Regions from separate parts of the Homo sapiens genome. Here region 1 is linked to region 2. The links are contacts of gene promoters, found by promoter capture Hi-C in human tissues and cell types (Jung and others, 2019). All regions are on one chromosome and are shown on one strand. Each heading gives the region's core, a stretch centred on a gene start or on the middle of the fragment in contact. The rest is flanking DNA. Distances are from core to core; before and after follow the strand shown.

What was found. Contacts are between HindIII fragments. The study calls those that stand out against the background at their distance.
Region 1: a contact is called between a fragment that was not itself captured here and the fragment with the promoter of MB21D2 in region 2, in 1 of the 25 tissues and cell types used here (dorsolateral prefrontal cortex).

The regions. Positions count from the first base shown.
Region 1 is chr3:193,541,418-193,545,410 of GRCh38, forward strand. All of the region lies in intron 1 of ATP13A4 (ATPase 13A4), which reads right to left. Among named protein-coding and RNA genes, the nearest start is that of ATP13A4-AS1, 9.8 kb to the right of the region's middle. The HindIII fragment of the contact is 5,057 bases long and covers 1-3,993 here.
Region 2 is chr3:192,915,543-192,919,601 of GRCh38, forward strand. MB21D2 (Mab-21 domain containing 2) reads right to left here and starts at 2,314. Exons shown (of 2, transcript NM_178496.4): 1 at 2,088-2,314. The coding sequence starts at 2,298. RefSeq lists an enhancer at 1,280-1,609 and a silencer at 2,260-2,619. The HindIII fragment of the contact is 14,649 bases long and covers 1-4,059 here.

The sequences.
Region 1 (3,993 bases), core at 925-3,424, 630 kb after region 2:
CTGTGATTATCGATCACAGATTATTAACCTGCTTACAGATTATTTCACAGAGATATTATCTCTGACAAAAGAGAAAAAAATCACCTTCAGGGACCTGAAAACTTTAAATACTATTTTTTCAGTTAGTTCACTGATTATATACTGACCATCAGATTGGAAATTCTGTTTCTTTCTTTGTTTGTTTGTTTGTTTGGACTACCCCACCCCATTTTTCTCACTCCAAGTAACAGTATCCAATACCCCAATATTCTTCTGGCAAACTACACCCTTCACTATTTGCAGCTGATGTGCTTCATGCAGAGTTGACTCTGACCCCAACTCTAGGAGAGGGCATGTGACAACAAGCATAGTATTCCAATGGCCACACAAATAAATTTAAAAAGCAAAAATGATTCAGTCAGAGCCAGTGAGAAGAAAGAGTATTTGGCTAAGACTATTGAAAGAAAGGCAAGTTCTTTTTTCCACTTGAAGTGGTACCTGGGGATGTGTAATCCTAGAGTTATCAGAGGGCTCCTTGTGAAGTATAACAATAAAACCCAGCTTGGAAGTTGTGTCCATGGCAATCAGGCAAGAGAAAGAAATAAAGGGTATTCAAATAGGAAAAGAGGAAGTCATACTGTCTCTGCTTGCAGATGGCATGATCCTATATCTAGAAAACCCCATCATCTCAGCCCAAAAGCTTCTTAACCTAATAAACAACTTCAGCAAAGTCTCAGGATACAAAATCAATGTGCAAAAATCAAAAGCATTCCTATACACCAACACTAGACTAGCAGAAAGCCAAATCATGAACTCCCATTCACAATTGCTACAAAGAGAATAAAGTACTTAGGAATACAGCTAACAAGGGAAGTGAAGAATCTCTTCAAGGAGAATTAGAAAACTCTGCCCAAGGAAATGAGAGAGGACACAAACAAATGGAAAAACATTCCATGCTCATGAATAGGAAGAATCAATATCATGAAAATGGCCACACTGCCCAAAGTAATTTATAGATTCAATGCTATTCCCATTAAACTGCCATTGACATTCTTCATAGAATTAGAAAAAAACTACTTTAAAATTTATATGGTACCCAAAAAAAAAAGAGTCCCCATAGCCAAGACAATCCTAAGCAAAAAGAACAAAGCTGGAGGCATCAGGCTACCTGACTTCAAACTATACTACAAGTCTGCAGTAACCAAAACAGCATGGTACTGGTACAAAAACAGACACATACACCAATGAAACAGAATAGATATCTCAGAAAGTACACCACACATCTACGTCCACCTGATCTTTGACAAACCTGACAAAAACAAGCAATGGGGAAGGGATTCCCTATTTAATAAATGGTGCTGGGAAAACTGGCTAGCCATATGCAGAAAATTGAAACTGGACCCTGTCCTTACACCTTATACAAAAATTAACTCAATATGGATTAAAGTCTTAAATGTAAAACCCAAAACTATAAAAAACCTAGAAGAGGCCAGGCACGGTGGCTCACGCCTGTAATCCCAGCACTTTGGGAGGCCGAGGTGGGCAGATCACAAGGTCAGGAGATCGAGACCATCCTGGCTAACATGGTGAAACCCTGTCTCTACTAAAAAATACAACAAAAATTAGCCGGGTGTGGTGGTGGATGCCTGTAGTCCCAGCTACTGGGGAGGCTGAGGCAGGAGAATGGCGTGAACCCAGGAGGCGGAGCTTGTAGTGAGCTGAGATCGCACCACTGCACTCCAGCCTGGGCAACAGAGCAAGACTCCATCTCAAAAAAAAAAAAGCCTAGAAGAAAATCTAGGCAATACCATTAAAAACATAGGCACAGGCAAAGATTTCATGACAAAAACTTCAAAAGCAATTGCAACAAAAGCAAAAATTCATAAATGGGATCTAATTAAGCTAAAGAGCTTCTGCACAACAAAAGAAACCATCATCGGAGTGAACAGACAATTTACAGACTGAATGAAAATGTCTGCAGTCTATCTGACAGAGGTCTAATATCCAGAAACTATAAGGAACTTGAACTTTTATAAGAAACAAACAACCCCATTGGCAAATGGGCACATGGAAAAGAATGCAGAAACCACTAAGAATAAGTAAGCAACACTAAACTAGTCTTGCCAAACCAACCTCATATAGTCTTTTGATAGCCGATCTTAACCAACTGGTTAGGACAATCATTAACACACACTTTATCTGATTTTCAAAAGTCTCTCTTGAGGATTTTTGCTTCTGAATGTAGAATGCTACAAAGAACATCACACTCCCCCTAACAACCAGGAAAAAATAGAGATAATCCACGAAGTCATAAATTTTCTTGAACTCATCAGATAGCTAAGGTTTCAAGGAAATCAAGTAAACCAAATTCCAAAGAACAAGTTCTTCCAAAAAGAAACAGGTTAAAACAATGTTTTTACCTTTTGCATCTCATGAAAGTGATGTTGGCCATATGAGTGATAAGAAGAAATGAGCTAAAATTTTAACAAATTTATAAAGTCCAAGTTTGGACTACAGCATCAGTTTAGCTTGAATATCTAAAGGTCTGAGACTCAGAAAGAGGCTGGCATCCACTCAGAAACTCTTCTTCCCAAGCATCAGTTGGTGTTCATCAGACAGACTGGGGGCAGAGGAGGACATCAGAGAGAGCTCCCTTTGGCAGCATAGGTCTGAAGGAGGTGACTAATGGCTCCAGGAGACAGGCTCAACTTCCCTCTTACTTCTCTGGACTCTTCTCTCCTACTATTTAAGCTTCTGGAATGAGATAGTAACTGACAAAGGCCAATTACTTCTAAGTAAGAAACCATCTGCCAGGACACAAGCAAAAATCAATTGAAGCCGGATGAAGGATAAAGGCAAAAACTTTTACCATTCACTATTCTGAAACCAGGATTCTACATTAAAATCAAATGAAATTAATAGCTAGTGGAGAAGCAAGAAACTCTCACCTAAGAAAACTACAAGTATAAGACAGATTTGGCTGCCACAGAGAGGGAGAATATGAATATTGACAAAGCACTACTCCCTGAAGCTAAGATACAAAGGGATTACCTAAGACTAAGTCTGGACAAGTGCAACAGATAACCCTGTCTACCTCTACTACAAGCCTAGCACTGAGTCATAAGCCCAGGAGGATACCACTGGGAGAGAAACAGGAGCACAAAGAGAGACCACTTCTACAATACAGGAATGCATAGATGACGAAAAAGTGAAGGAGTATCCAGATGATTTGATTTCAACACCTGTGATCCTAATCACTTCTAAGCCCAAAAGATCAGAGATTTAAGACTTATACAAAAAGGGATCTGGAGGTTTTGTTTCTCACAAGTTCAAAATAAGCCCAAAGTATAAAATAACTGCTAAACTAATAAGTACTGTGTGGGGCTTATGTAGCAGTACTAGTACTGGTACTGGTAATAACAGGCTACATCAAAAGCATAAAGTACACTGAGATATGAGCAGAAGGTTTGAAGTCAATCTGCCTATGCTTAATTTCTGTTTTTTTTGCTTCTTAGATGCCAGATTTGGGTATATTATATAGTTTCTCAGTGCCTCCTTTTGTAAGATTGAGGTTAACAACCCACTTGAGTCAGGAGAGAAGAGAGAAACTCATAATATATGCACACATTTTTCAATTCATCTCATCAGAAATATATCAAATAAAGTCAATGTGACATGTTAAATATAAACATGAAATAAGATAGTCTCAGATCTCTCCATCTACCCAAACTTAATTCTTGGATAGTTTTGTTTTAGAACTGGCCTCAAAACATGAAGCATTTTTCACAATATTATCTTCTAAGTACTGATTCTGAAACTCAAGTACCAGAGTTTCAAAATCCTTCAGCCATAGTTCCCCCAAGAAGGCAACAGATTCTGGAAATGCTGAAGTGATTACAGTTTTAGCCAGGGCCCTGCATGTGTACCCACTGAAATCAGAGTGTCCTGGCCTGAGGACATTATATTTCTCTGGAAAGCATTCAGGACATTTGGGCCTCCTCTCTGTTCTTTTTC
Region 2 (4,059 bases), core at 1,064-3,563:
ATCTTCTCTCCTGCAGGTGGAAATGCTAAATTCCCAGGGGGCAAGAAAGACTGCTTGCAAGGTCAACTGGGTAAAAAGGAATAGAAGCAAATCTAGTTTACCTGTCAACACAATGCCACCCATGGCATTAAACACATGCAAAAATTAAGCACCCTAGAATAATTTACTTTTTTATATTTGGATAAAAGCTTTGCTGATTCAGTGTATCAGCTTTGGAGTTAAGCACAGAAGTTCCTCATGAGCCAGGCACTTAAATTTACCCTCCCTACATTATCCCATTTCCTGACCCATGACTACCCTAACTGGTGGTGACCCAGTACCTTCTTCTAGTAAATGACCTACGCAAGTGACATCAGAACTGATCTGGGGGCTGTATTAACACAATGGCAGACTTCCATTATTTATGCCACAGAGAAAGGCTATGATTAACTAAACAACTTAAGTAACTGCGCTCAGCCTTCTGTGTGTGGCCCCACCTTCCTGACAATCACTGTGTTGGCTTTTGGCTTTGTAAGCATTTTAGGCTTCCCTGTGGAAGCTCACTCCTACCAGGTTTTATATATATATATATATATATATTTAATTCATCTATTCATCTACATAGTTGAACGGCTGAATCTCTCAATAGTTTTTCAACCTCATACGCAACGTAAGACACACTTGAAGAGTGCGGCGCAAAAGGTAAAAACCAGCCTAGAGTTTTAACATGTTTCATCTAACTTCCCAACGCGTGAACAACTACCAGCGGACACAGACACGTTCAGTCTGTATTACCCCGTCCTTGGGCAGTGAGGAAGAAGAAAACCTAGAAGGAAGAAGGTATCCCAGGATAGAAGCAGCAACAGCCGGCTGAAACCCAATTAGATTGCAGGAGAAAGAGAAAAGCCCTGTCTTAGTCTGTGGCCAAAAGACCTTTCCCAATCAAATTTTTCAACACCTGGAAAATTGGCTTATCTATTTGTAGAGAGCACCCAGAGACGAGCGTTAGAGCAGCGCTACCCTGGAGTACCAGTTCTTCGGAATGTTGACCGCCGGCCACGCACCGCTTGACAGCCACGGATCCGCTGGCGGAGCCGCAAGTTACAACCCAGGCGCCTGGCAAACTCACACTACACCTCAGTAGCAATAATCCCAACGGCAGGACACCTGGGGAGGGTGGGCTCGGTCTCCCGGGCCTGGCTCAATTATGTTCCTTTACACAGCATTCAATCATGTTTCAGGAGCCGTAGGTGAGGGGCTGGAGGTGGGAGTGGGGGACACATTTTCTAGCCCCCGACGTCTCCGCGGTTGGAAACTCTGGGCACCTCTTTCGGCCAGCGCTAAGACAATACACAAAGAGCAGGGAACCGGCGCTCCTCTGCGGCCAGAGCTCCGCGCCTAGTCACGGAAGAGCTGGGAATTAAGAATTCCGAGCTCAGCGAGAGCCCTGAAGAAGCACCGGAAATGCTTCCGATCGCTTCATAAGAGAAGTCAATTTGCAAATCAAAGTTGCAGGAACTCCGGACGCCTAGACTACTTCAGCGGGTTACTCGGGAACACCCAACAAGTTTGGCCACCGGGGGCTCGGCATGACAGCGCCGCGCCGCGAGACGACAGAAGCAACTTGTCGCTCGGGCGCCAAGCCAGAGCCCTGAGCCGTCTCCGCTCCCAAGCTCGGGAGAGCACCCAAGAGCCGGCGTCGGGAAAGCGGAGGTCCCTGCCTCCGGCAGCCAAATCCCTCAACTGAAGGCACCTCAGGGGCTCACCTGGACTGCACTCGCTTCCAGGGGCTTCCCCCAACAGTGCAACGCTTCACCGCGAACGCCTCACCTGCCTGCCAGCCCCAGGTGGCGGAGAAATTAACAAAAGAGCAAGCGAACAGGGGGAAAGGGAGACCCGGCGTAAAGTATAGTAAGGAGGGGAGGGCAGGCAGCTCGGCTTTCGGCGGAGAAAGAAGAGAGAGGCGGAACAGAGATGGCTTATACCCAAGGCACCGGCTCGGGAAGGCAACCCAGAAGGGAAGAGGTCGAGAAGCGGCAATGGGTTTTCTACTCCGCTTCCCATCACACACACACACGCACACACACCTCCCCCTTTTTCCTCCTTACCCAGCATGGAAAAGATGAAATCCTTGGCTGTGTGAATCTCCAGCGCTCTCTGGTCGTCGTATTCCCGCTGGTCGTGCTTCGTAAATTCTTGGATGAGTTTGTTCAATTCCTCCACCCGAGCTCCCGACCTGAAATCCAGCTCCGGGAACGCAGGCTTGTTGTTACAGCCCAGGGAGGCTGCCTTGTTGGCGGTGGGAGCCGCCATCTTCATGCAAAACGCGCCGAGTAGCAGCTCCGCGGCAGCGCGGCACCCACCCCCGCCCCCCACCCCGCCCCCCTGGGCCTCCTCCCCTCGCAGGCTCCCAGGCTTTGGCCCCGGCTCGTGGGCGGGTTGGCGGGCGGGCGTCTGGGCGGGCAGTCCCCCGCTCCGTGCGCTCTGGGCGTGCGAGCTTCGGGAGGAGCTGGACTGCAGCGAGGGTGCGTGTGTGGCCCCGACACCCTTTTCTCCGGCCCCACGCCCGCCCCGATGCTGCGCGTCCCTGCCCTGCCCTGGCCCTCTCTGGCAGCGGCAACGGCGGTCGTAGAGCCAACTGGAGCCTCCCCCGGGCGAGGAAAGTGAAGTGGAAACAATGTGAAATTCACCAGCTCTGAAATCAACAAGCTGCCGGCTCCGGTGTTACGGAGCCAGCACCAGCGTCTCCATTTAAAGGGACAGCGCACCCAGTGGAAAGGAAAATAAATAAATGACAGAGGTCTGCACGCATATACCACTTGCCAATCCGTACTTGGGAAGACGCGCGAGGTGTGGATGCATTCTTTCTCCACCTCCACGGCCGTCCCCCCATCCCCTTTCTGGGCAGGGTTTGCCAAGCGCATTCAAGGAGAAGAAAGTCTTCCTCCGTTTGATTTTAAGGGCGGTGTCCTGGGGGAGGACATCTCTGTGCGCGTTTACCTCTCTATCCCAAGAACTCCAATACCTTTAAATAGTAAAGGAAACTGCCTTAAGGAATATGAAACCTGTCTTCTACCCTTTTCCTCTTGGATTGCCAAGATGATAGGATTGAGCGTATAAAAAAAGAGGGTCCACATCTAACCCAGTATTGGCACTCCCACTAACCCCTAGATATCCCTACCTTTGCCCAAGGTAATTAATGACCTGAATAACAGCTTATTTATCTTAACATATAATGAGTTAATGAGATTCAACCTACTCTAATATAAAGATAGGGAAACTGAAGTGTGGGTGTGGGAGAGGGGAAACAATGTATTGCCCCAGGTTCCAAGAAATGTTGGATGACAAGATGAAAATTTTCTCATTCAACAGATAAAATTTGAGTACGCACCATTTGCCAGATGGAGTGACAGAATGTGACAGTGATAACCAAAAGACATGGCTCCTACCATGGAGTTAGGCTTACATGACAAGGCAGGTTCAATCTAAGTCATAGTCCTTTAGGCAGAATAGAGTCTCAGAGGTGGTTTTAGTGTTTATGGGGTGTATCATTCAAACACTTAGGAGGCCCATTGGCTGTGAGAAACATAGGTTATCTTCCTCCCTAATTCTCCAAAATCTCTCTTCTCTATCCCACAGTCCCTGATTTAGATCAGGTCTGTTTCACTTTCTTACCCGAGTTCTCATGGCCAAGAATACAAATTGTTTTGTTAGACATGGAAGGAAGTACGGACTCTTCCATGCCTTCCCCTATAAAATGGGAATAATAATTCCTGTCTCACAGGTTGTTTTAAGGATTACGTGAGATAAAACAGGTCAAGCACTTAGTTCAAGGACTGACATAATAAGTACTTAGCTATTATCAGCTTCTACTATTATTGTTATTAATTCTTTCACTGTTCCTCAATCTAGTAACAACTTGTTGCCAGAGTGATCTTTAGAAAACACAGACCTGACCACTGACCTCCCCCTGGAATTCCTCTCTTCTTTACTCCGTTTACACCAAAACCAATCCGCGTCTGCCTTTTTCTTACAGCTTTCCGGAGACCCTCCCCTCAAGCTGGTGGCAACTTTTCCTTC